Linked DNA regions of Homo sapiens: regions 1, 2 and 3 are each linked to region 4. Evidence: promoter capture Hi-C in 16 types of primary human blood cells and fetal thymus (Javierre and others, 2016). All regions are on one chromosome and are shown on one strand. Each heading gives the region's core, a stretch centred on a gene start or on the middle of the fragment in contact. The rest is flanking DNA. Distances are from core to core; before and after follow the strand shown.

Region 1 (2,909 bases), core at 217-2,716, 200 kb after region 4:
CATATCATATTCAGTGCCTACTATAAGTCAGGTTTTGTTCTAGGCTTTGGGATTCATCAATGAGTAAAATAATTTTCTGCTCTCATAGAGTTTAGAATCTGGGGCAGGAATAGAAGCGAAAACAAACTCATAAGTAAGTAATTCTACTTTAGGCAGACTACATGATAAAGAAAATGATTCAAGGTAAGGAGAGAGAGGATGCATAGACTGGGGGAGGGAGATTGCTATTTTAGAGAGTAGCCAGGAAAGACTTTTCTGAGGAGGAGTCAGCCAATCAGAGATGTGAATGAAGAGAAGGGACTAGTAATGCTAAGATATAGCAGATACACTCAGAGATGTGAGGGTGTGTGTGTGTGTATGTGTATGTGTGTGTGTGTGTGTGTATGTGTGTGTGTGTAGTAATGCCCACAGGCAGGACAGGTAATACCAGTAATAGGTCCATCATATTTTATGCAGGTTCGTTGGTACATACTTGTGGTGCTAAGTTCAGCATGCCATATAGACAGGGGTAACAGCAAGTGTAAATGCCCTGTGGCAGAAAGTAGCTTGTAGAGCAGAAAGTATCAGTGACCACTGACTGCTGCAAGAGGAAGACAGGGAGGGGAGGAAGGGCCACATTAAGATTGGCCTTGTTGGCCATAATAAGGATCAAATTCTTATGCACCACCACATAGCCCTTTCCAAAGCCCACATTGATCTTCATCCCCCACAGCACCATCCTGCTGTACAAAAGGGCCCAGTTGTGATAATCACTACAACTGGGGAGATGTTGGTCATCACAGGCTCTGGGGGTCTGGGCAGGATAGAACTGAGCTCCGTGTGACCTTCACTACCCCCCTAAGCAATTTAGCATCACTCTGTAGCTGGCCTAAGAAGAGGGCAGATCCTCCTTCCAACTCTACTCGCTTCTTCCCACCTGACTCCACCACCCACCCTTACAATTTTAAGTGTTTTTAAATCCACCTACTTCTGGGAAATTTCTGGGGCTCTTATTGAGTCCTGCTAAGAGCCTGAGGGAACTGAGAGAAAGACAGGAGGCTCTCCCTTTTAGGAATGGATTGTGGGTCACTGAGGTTCAGAAAGTGGGGAGCTCTGGGCGGCCTCCAGCAAAAGACCTGATGGTCAACCCTGAGGTGGAACGAGTTTAGAAAACAAACTATTTTTGCCCCATTCATTCATGTCCACCAGCTGCTCCCTGAGCTCCATCGACCTGGTAATTGTTTTTCTTGGCATTCCAGGGTAGTAGGTCACGTTAGATTCTTTTCTTTCAAATATTCTACTGACATCAAAGTGGAAGGGATGTAAGGTAAAAAGAAATAAATCGGGGAGGATTCTGCATGTTTCACAACTGCTTTTATGTTCAGGATGTGCAGGAATGCCGGGGTGGGCGCAGATTCTGTTACCTCCCCCAGTTCAAGGAAGAGTGGTGGGTGGGAGTGTGTGTGATGTCCATATGCAGAAATGATCTGGACTGACAGTAGGGCAGTAGGCTGCACAAAAGCAAGAGTCAAGGGCAAGATTTTTCAAATTGAGATAGTGTAGCGGATAACACAGGGCTTAGATTGAGCAATAAAACATGAAACTGGTGGGAGGCAGCTGGAGGTGATAGCAGTAAGGTGGAGAGACAGGAACGAGGCTCCATTGCTTGGTGTGTGCTCTTGGGAAGGGCATGTTCCCTCCCAGAGTCCAGATTTTCTCACCTATAAGGTAGATTCTGTATGTACGACTTTTCCACATCTTAGATCTTCCTGAACAGTTCTGATTTGGGTGGTTAGCCAAAGAATCAAAAGCAATTTCATTTTCATAACATAGCCTTGGTCCCTGGACTTCAGGAGTTTGCAGTCTGATGGAGGATTTAGCATGAGCATGTTACAGAGATTGCAGAAGTCTCCAGCAGTGCAAAGTGAAGGAGCACCGGAAGTCTTCAGTAGAGAAGAGTCTTAAAGAGAGCTTCCCTGGAGTAAGCTGTGGAGAATCTGGGAAGACTCAACTAAGACACTTTTAGAAGCAGGGGGCAATAAAGCCGGTGGACAGAAGGCTGGGGAAGAGCCAGGTTATAACAATTATAGATTAGAGAGGGTATTGTTTCATGTCTGTTTTACTGAATGAGCCCATTATTGCGTTGGGTACACAAGGCTCAAAACAAGTTTAATTTTTTAAAAAACTTCTTCCTGACTCCCTCTTTTCAGTGAAATTTATACACTCTTTCTATAGTGCAGTGTACCTCAAGAAATTTCAAAATGGTTATACACTTTCACCCGAAAGTTCTACTTTTAGAAATGTGTTCTAAGAAAATAATCAAGGCTATCAATTGCTGTGTGCCAGGCACCAAAACAATTTATATATACAATTTTGTTCTCACAATAACTCAGTAAGGAAGATATTATTATCGCCTTATCTGTGTGTGAGAAACATGAGATCTAGAAAAATTTAGTAAATGTGGTTAAAGTTACATCCAGCAAGTGGTATAGACAGGATTTGAATCCAGGTCTGAATGAGTCAAAAGCCTATTTTCAATCTCCACAGTTTTCTTCCACTTTAGGGACATGCACAATGATGTATGTACAAGAATTGATTAAACCAGATATAGTTCATTCATGTTGAATATTGTGAAGACATGAAAAATGATGCTGTAGAGCACTTCAAAGCCATGGAAAATTATTTATAATACGTTACGTAGAAATGTGATGACATATTGTGTATGACATGAGCCCAATTTTATAAAAAGATATGATAATGCTTAGGTACTAATCAAATAAAATGTTGATATTTTATGCACTATATTGGGATTGTGAATTTTTTATTTTCTTATCAATGTATTTTGTAGTTTCAAATTTTTCTTTAAAAAATAACATTGCTTTTTTAATCAGAAAAAATAAATGACACAAAACAGTTTGCTTTTAATCATA
Region 2 (2,700 bases), core at 53-2,552, 150 kb after region 4:
TAGTGGGAAAGACAGGGAATAAACAAATATAGTGATACAGTATAACAAATGCTAAGATACAAGTAGGAACAGACAGTTTTAGGAAATAAAAAAAGGGCAGGAAACCAGACCAGGAACACCAGGAAAAGCTTTGTGGAGGAGGTGGCACTTGAGTTAGACCTTGAAGGTTGAATAAGAGCTTCTAGACAATGGAGGCAGGGGTAAGTCATCCTGGAACTGGAAATGGTATGGGGTTAGATGGAGCCTAAGTTTTCTCATCTGCAAAAGGCTGAAATGATTTTCATAGGCTTATTGTCAGGATAAAGAGTTATGGAAACTGCCTGATGCTATTGAGGACACATAATAAATGTTTGAGTTATTAATTTTAACCACTTTGCCATGCCCCTGTGGGCCCACAGCATGTGTTTTCTCCTTGATTGTGGTACTTAGGACATGGGGTATTGGGACTTATCTGTTTATGAGGCAATTGTCCCTGATAGACCAAAGCTCCATACGTAGAATGACAAGAGGGTCACAGCTTCCTTGGAGTGACTTCCTTCCACAAGTAGCCCTCAACTAAGCTAGCAGAAGCTCCAAGAGAAACTGCAGGTTGACATTTTTTCCAGTGGAATATTTACGTTTAAGAATAGTTTCACAGTTATATTTCTGACACTTCCTGCTCTCTACCAGAACTTGAAAGAAGCCAGTTTCTCCTAGCATCCTACTCCTGACATTACACTTAGCACCCACTGATGTTGCCCAAAGGCTTAGGACAGTGCCTTGCATGTAGTAGGCACTCAAGAAATATTTGTTGGATGAATAATGAGCCACATAAAGTCAGGCATATGACTTCCTCCACTTCTTATCCCATCTGCTTGGCAAGGTGTCTGACCCACAGTAGGCATCTGAGAATGGGGTAGCTTCTCCAGCAGACTGTGCTTACTGAGCACTTAATCCTCTCCCTTTCTATCCATGTGGACAGCTTGGGTGCCATGGATGTGCTGCGTGCAGCTACTGTGCACATGGCTTCTTCACATCTGTTCTTGCATGCTAGCTGCACAGGGATCTAGTGATGGGATCCACGGTGGGGTGCCCTGTGGTGTTTTCTAGTCTCTGCTTTGCTGCTACAGATCCTAAAGCTTATAGCTCCTCTCTTCTGGAGAGAATGTTCCATGCGGGGCTCCCAAGATGACAGGAGGGCACTCTCCTGTTTCATCTCGAGTTTGCTACTGACTACAGGGGAATGTGGGTTCAATTTATTGGAAGAAAGTGATACTGATGACCTCCTCACCCAGACCCTGTTCCACAGACACTTTTGGCTGCAGCATTCTATTCTTGGAGGCAGAAATGGTCTCGGCAGTCTGGTCTGCATTTGCCTTCCTGTGCTACCTGGGCCTCTGTGGCCATAAAGCCATGCCTAGCCATTCCAAGTCTTCTCCCCTGAGTGCTAATTAACCCTGTACTATAGAGAGGGACAGGAAAAGAACATCATGTACATAAAGCTTCAATAGATATAGGAAACTGGGGGTATGACAACAGCCACTGCCTTCCCCATCATTATTATGGAATGTGACTCCTGATGTCAGCGACTGTGTGCTCTTCTGCTCTGAATCCCCAGCACCTGGCACCCTAATAAATGTTTGTTGCATATAAATGAATGAATCTCAGCCCTGCCCTGATTATCAGAGCAATATGAGTTCTAGTCAGGGAATTATGGAGCAGCCTGGGAACCTACTCACTCTCCCCATCGAGGTTTGGTATAGACTCACCTTCCCTGGCTGGCTGGCCCAGGCCTCAGTCACTCAGGCTGGGGTCTTCTGGACTGTGCCCCTTGTTGCACTGGCTGTGGATCCAGCATAGTCCAGAGTGGATTCCAAGCTGGGCCCCAGAGAACATCCATGCTTATTTCTGTCCTAGAGCAGGCCCTCTCCCCTCTGTGTCCCTCGCTTGTCTTTATACCACCAGGGTAGTGTAGGTGAGAGCACCTAGGGCTTACAGGTGTGTAGGTGTGGCTAAAAGAGGGGCAGGATACAGGAAAGAAAGGTGGGGCTAGGCCTCTGTCCCCCAGGGCCCCTTTCCATGTTCCCCAACCTCCCACCATCTATATTCTTCTTCTTACAGGCTCCCCTGGCCACACTGGCTCTACATCCATGAGCCCATCAGCAGCCTTGTCCACAGGGAAGCCAATGGACAGCCACCCCAGCTACACAGATACCCCAGTGAGTGCCCCACGGACTCTGAGTGCAGTGGGGACCCCCCTCAATGCCCTGGGCTCTCCATATCGAGTCATCACCTCTGCCATGGGCCCACCCTCAGGAGCACTTGCAGCGCCTCCAGGAATCAACTTGGTTGCCCCACCCAGCTCTCAGGTAAGTGTTCTTCCTCTCCAAGGCCTTTCCAGCCATCTTACATGGTTTCACCCAGGCTGCTCCTGGAGCAGAACCAGCACTCAGCAGGTCCATAATGCGTGCTTGCCAAAGGGTTTGAATGGTCTCTGCAGACGTCCCTCAGGCAGGGCCTTCATTGCATGTGTCCTCAGGCTGAGCAGTCCTGAAGAACTGACAACTCCTCATGGTCCAGGAGACTGTGACCAAAAGGGGGCCTTCCTTGTAGTTTTAGCAGTTCAGCCCTGGCTGTGATTTCAACATCTCTCAGCAGAATGGACCCCTTTTATTCTTCTCAATTCAATCATGAGCATTTATTGAGTCACTGAAGTGCCAC
Region 3 (2,759 bases), core at 166-2,665, 240 kb after region 4:
TGCTATTGGTGACTTTTGTCCTGGGAGCTTGTCTGCACATTTGGCAGCAGAACTGTTGAATATCATATCCGGAGCTTCCAGCATAACTTCCATCGGGACCAGCCAGCAGCTGTCCATCCATTCCTTGCATAACCCCTTTCCAAGTTTTCTTCTGAACTGTGTTGTATTTTCAAACAAGTCTCAGCCTTAGCTAGAAAAGATCCCACTGTGCCCCCAGTGGAGGCTGATTTCCAGAACTGTTGACATCCCTCTTGTTTTTTACTTGGCCTAGCTGGATCAAAAAGTGATAATGGAATCCCAGTTTTTAAGGAAACTGAGTATTCCTGTATTGTATTATTTCTCTCACCATTGCTGAAATTTTATTCTCTTAAAACTAGTTCTAGTCCATTTTGGAGAGATGAAATATGTGTCTGAATTTAATGTTTGTAAACTGGTATTTAATGAAACTAGAGATTTCAGGTAACACATGAGCAACTGGAATGTACTTTACCTAGTTGCATGTGGAATTTTCTAATTTAGAGTTAAACAGACTCTTATAAACAGTTGGTTCATTAATTAAATCACTCATTCATTCATTTAATCATCAAACATTCGTATTAAATTCCTGTATGTGTCAGGTATGTAAAAATGAATAAAACAAATCACTCATGTACTAAAGGTCTAGCAGAAACTGTTTAGACATGTAAATTAAGCAGATGCTTTGAAAAAAGAATAACATTATTTTAAGAAAGGCATGGCCACAGGGATAGAAAACCAGGTTATCTAAATTCCTTGGTTCTGTATTACTATGTGCTATTCATCATCTTCAAGGCACTTATTACAATTTGAAATATATATATATATATATATATTTGGTTTATTGTCTGTCTATGTCACTAGACCATAAGCTCTATGAAGGAAGACACTTCTTGTTTTGGTTTTGTTTTATAATCCCTACATCTCCATAATCTTGCATAGTATTTAGTGAATGCATGTTAGTTGAATAGATAAATTAATTACGTGACTTGCTTGGGGTTGTTTAAAAAGCTTCATGGAAAAGGTGACATGTTAACTGGCTCTTGCAGGATGAGTGGGAGTGTAGGAAAAGAGGAGATGATGGGAGAATTCCAAGTGGAAGAAGAAACATGTGCAAATGGATGGAGCCCGGAAAAGAAAGTGTGCTAGTTACTGTGGTCACTGGTCATGGACATGGTGGTGCCACAACATCAAGAGCATTTAGGGTATGGCTGGTTGTGGACTGCAAAATCATGCCAAGTCACTATGAGTGTTGTGTAACATACAAAGAACATTCAGTTTCATACTGTGGTTAGTAGGCAGCCAGCAGGGATTTCTAAGCATGAAATATTGTGGCCATATTTATTTTCTGGAAAGGTAATTCTGGTGGCAAACTGGGGCACTGGTAGGAGTGTGGGTAGAGACTGGCAGAGACCACTTAGATAGTTGTTGCTATAGTCTAGGCAAGAGATAATAAGGATATGAATTAAGGTGAGAGGTTGGGAATGAAGAGGACAAACATGACCTAGAAAATATTCCTGACGTAGGATAAGTTGAACATCATGACTTTTGACTGAGGAAAGGGGTGATAAAGAGAGAAGATTTGAAGATGATCCAGAAGGGACAAGGTGGACTGTTACATCAGTACCTGATAGAGGGAATTTAAGAAGTGAGCAGGAGACAGGCAGAAGCAGATAATGAGATAACTGTGAACATGCTATACTAAGTTACTGGTGGGACAGTCAGGTGGAGATGTCCAGGAGGCAGTTGTGAAAGAAGATCTGGAAACTAGCCAGGACACAAAGCTTTGGGATACATTGTCATATAAATATCAGAAGAGGGGAATGCCCAAGGGTGTACTACATGAAAAGAGAGCCAAGGTTGACTCTGTGGGGGAACACCAGAATTCAAAGAGCTTTGGGAGATTCTGTAATGAGATGACACAGAGGCAGGGGAGAACATCAGAGTGAGTGGAGTTCTGGAAGGCAGGGCAGTAGTAGGGAATTTCAAGAAGTAGGGCTTCCTGTTTGCCCTTACCAAGCGTAGTTTTGGCCAGGTACAGTGGCTCATGCCTGTAATCCCAGCACTTTGGGAGGCTGAGGTGGGTGGATCATTTGAGTCCAGGAGTTTGAGACCAGCAGTGAGACCCCATCTCTAAAAAAATAAAAACAAAAACATTAGCCAGGTGTGGTGGCACATGTCTGTGGTCCCATGTACTCGGGAGGCTGAGGTGGGAGGATGGCTTTTGCTCAGGAGTTTGAGGCTGCAATGAACCATCACCATTGCACTCCAACCTGGGCAACAGAGCAAGACCCTGTCTCAAAAAACCAAACAAACTAGGTTTGCTAGAGGCATAGAGGGTACAGGACAGCATTTTATACCATATAAAGGCTATATAGTAAAAAGAAGTTGAAGAAATAGGGGGAGTGATGTGGCCACTCTTTCAAGAAGATGCGTAGTGAGAAAAAGATGGGGGGCAAAGATACCACTTGGGGTAGAGATAGAATGAAGGGAAGATGCTTTGGGATGAGGTAGTTTTGAGCCTGCTTGATGGCTAAGGTGAGTTTAGCCAGGGAAGGAAGGAAGTTGAAGATCCAGGAGGGACAGTGGGGCATCCATGTGATAGAGGAGAAGCCTAGGGAAGGGTGAGGGGCACATCTGGGGCACAGGTTCTGCCCCTGCTTTGCTCCTTCCCAACCACTCCTTCCCTTTGTTCTTTTGTACATTTCCCTGTGGGTTTGTTAGAACTGATCACTGCAGTACAG
Region 4 (2,700 bases), core at 16-2,515:
TGTATATTTTACAGTTGGAATATATACACATATATGTATATATACACATATACATATATGTATGTATGTATGTGTATATATGTATGTATGTGTATATATGTATGTATGTGTGTATATGTATACGTATATACATATATGTGTGTATATGTATACGTATATACATATATGTGTGTATATGTATACGTATATACAATGTATGTATATATGTATACATATACATACATATATACATGCATGTATGTATATGTGTATATATACATACATATACACATACATACACATATATGTGTATATGTATACACATACATACACATATATGTGTATATGTATACACATACATACACATATATGTGTATATGTATACACATACATACACATATATGTGTATATGTATACACATACATACACATATATGTGTATATGTATACACATACATACACATATATGTGTATATGTATACACATACATACACATATATGTGTATATGTATACACATACATACACATATATGTGTATATGTATACACATATACATATGTGTATACGTATACACGTATATATGTATACACACATACATACGTATAGATGTATACACACACATACATACGTATAGATGTATACACACATACATACGTATATATGTATACACACACATACGTATATATGTATACACACATACATACGTATATATGTATACACACACATATACGTATATATGTATATAGACACATATACGTATATATGTATATATACACACATATATACGTATATATGTATATATACACACATATATACGTATATATGTATATATACACACATATATACATATATATAATGTATATACACACACATATATACATATATAATATGTATATATACACACACATATATGTATGTATATTTTACAGGCTTAATTAACTTTCTTTTTCTTGTATAAAAACCCTATGTTGTAGCTACAGCTGGAGCCTGGGTCCTCTGCACGGAGACTCTGGTGTGGGTCTTGGCGAGGTGGTCAGTGAATTCTTGATAGGGACACTTGGTGAATACAGCCGTCCTCCAGAGGTCAGGGGTCAGGTAGCTGTAGGTCTTAGAGATGGCATCAAAGGTGGCCTTGGCGAAGTTGCTCAGAGTGGCAGTGCAGCCCCTGGCTGAGGTGTAGCAGTCATCGATACCAGCCATCATGAGCAACTTCTTGGGCACAGGCGCCGAGACGATACCGGTGCCTCTGGGCACGCGGATGAGGCGCACGAGCACGGAGCCGCAGCAGCCCGTCACCTTGCAACGGATGGTGTAGGGCTTGCCGATCTTGTTCCCCTAGTAACCTCTGCGCATGGGGACAATGGAGAGCTAGGCCAGGATGATGGCCCTGTGGATGGCAGTGGCCACCTCCTTGGAGCACTTAACACCCAGACCGACGTGACCGTTGTAGCCCGCAATGGCCACAAACGCCTTGAACCTGGTTCGCTGGCCGGCTCCGGTCTGCTTCTGCACCGGCATAATCTTCAAAACCTAGGCCTCGAGAGAGGCCCCCCAGGAAAAAATCAATGATCTCAGATTCCGTGATGGGCAGGGAGAAGAGACAGATCTCCTCCAGGGAAGTGATCTTCATGTGCTTGACCAGGCAGCCCAGCTTGCTGACGGGCATCCACTCCTTATCCTTGGCCTTGCCTCCGCGAGCTCCGTGGCTTCGGCCCCAGCCTGGTCCACGGCAGTGACCCCGGCCTCGGATGCCACTGCCGAAACCTCCACGGAAGCCACCATGGTTCCCCATCCCAGGGCCCCGGGGCCTCCGGGACTCCCCCCGCAACCCAATGCCGGCTGCGCCGGCGTCATCCGCCATTTGGTGTTTTCTCGGAGAAGAAGCTACATGTGGAATATATTAACGCAACAAATTGTGCGTACTTGCTAGACATTAGGCATGATAGCAAGTGCTAGGGTTACAAAGTATTGCTTTTTGGGGAACCCATGGTTGTTGGGGAGAAACCAGAAGATCAGTCATCACAGTGCGGCAAGATCAGACTTGTGGTTTGTTCAGGTTCTGGGAGCCGTCACTGCAGTGAGAATGGGTGAGTTGGGGCAGGCTGTGGTGTCTGGGAAATTTTAAAATAGAAGTGATACTTGAGCAAGAAGTTGAAGGATGAATATGGATTTATAGAATAAGCAGGGTGTAGAGACATGTGTGCATGTGTGTGTGTATTTCATAAAGAAAGACATGCATGTGCAAAGGCCTGGAGGCTGTTGATGTCAGCAGAATGTTCTGAGGAATGAGTAAGATGAAACAGATGAAACACTTAAAGGCATTTTTTCTCCATTAGTCAAGTCTAGGAGAGGCATTCAATGTCTAATGTCTAACTAGGGTTAGGATTTGAAGAATCTTTCTAAGATGTCTGGTCTTTTTTTTTTTTTCTTTTAGAGATGGGGTTTCACTGTGTTGCCTAAGCAGTGGCTATTCATAGGCACAGTTACAGCACACTGCAGTCTTGAACTCCTGGACTCAAACTATCCTCCTGCCTTGGCCTCCAAAGTAGCTAGGGCTACAGGCACATGTGACTGTGCCTGAGTAAGACGTCCCCTCTCAAAAGTCAGCAAATAAAAGGCAGCTTAGAGAAAGCCATGGTTCCTACCTGATCACCCTCCCAACCATCCTATGAGGATTTTACAGATGAGGACCCTGACGTTCAGTGGGTTTAAGTAATTTCCC

The links. The method cuts DNA at HindIII sites, captures the fragments that hold promoters and counts their contacts. A CHiCAGO score of 5 or more calls a contact.
Region 1: a contact is called between a fragment that was not itself captured here and the fragment with the promoter of LRRC52-AS1 in region 4, in 9 of 17 cell types (total CD4 T cells, activated CD4 T cells, total CD8 T cells and 6 more). The highest score is 10.6, in total CD4 T cells.
Region 2: a contact is called between a fragment that was not itself captured here and the fragment with the promoter of LRRC52-AS1 in region 4, in 1 of 17 cell types (naive CD8 T cells). The highest score is 6.0, in naive CD8 T cells.
Region 3: a contact is called between a fragment that was not itself captured here and the fragment with the promoter of LRRC52-AS1 in region 4, in 1 of 17 cell types (activated CD4 T cells). The highest score is 6.3, in activated CD4 T cells.

What each region holds. Positions count from the first base shown.
Region 1 is chr1:165,378,796-165,381,704 of GRCh38, reverse strand. No RefSeq gene overlaps it. Among named protein-coding and RNA genes, the nearest start is that of LMX1A, 24 kb to the right of the region's middle. The HindIII fragment of the contact is 3,600 bases long and covers 1-2,909 here.
Region 2 is chr1:165,428,367-165,431,066 of GRCh38, reverse strand. RXRG (retinoid X receptor gamma) reads left to right here. Exons shown (of 10, transcript NM_006917.5): 2 at 2,101-2,348. Among named protein-coding and RNA genes, the nearest start is that of RXRG, 15 kb to the left of the region's middle. The HindIII fragment of the contact is 363 bases long and covers 1,121-1,483 here.
Region 3 is chr1:165,339,682-165,342,440 of GRCh38, reverse strand. All of the region lies in intron 3 of LMX1A (LIM homeobox transcription factor 1 alpha), which reads left to right. Among named protein-coding and RNA genes, the nearest start is that of LMX1A, 16 kb to the left of the region's middle. The HindIII fragment of the contact is 773 bases long and covers 1,029-1,801 here.
Region 4 is chr1:165,580,720-165,583,419 of GRCh38, reverse strand. LRRC52-AS1 (LRRC52 antisense RNA 1) reads left to right here and starts at 1,265. Exons shown (of 7, transcript NR_026744.2): 1 at 1,265-2,065. It also overlaps the pseudogene RPS2P10. The HindIII fragment of the contact is 5,029 bases long and covers 1-2,700 here.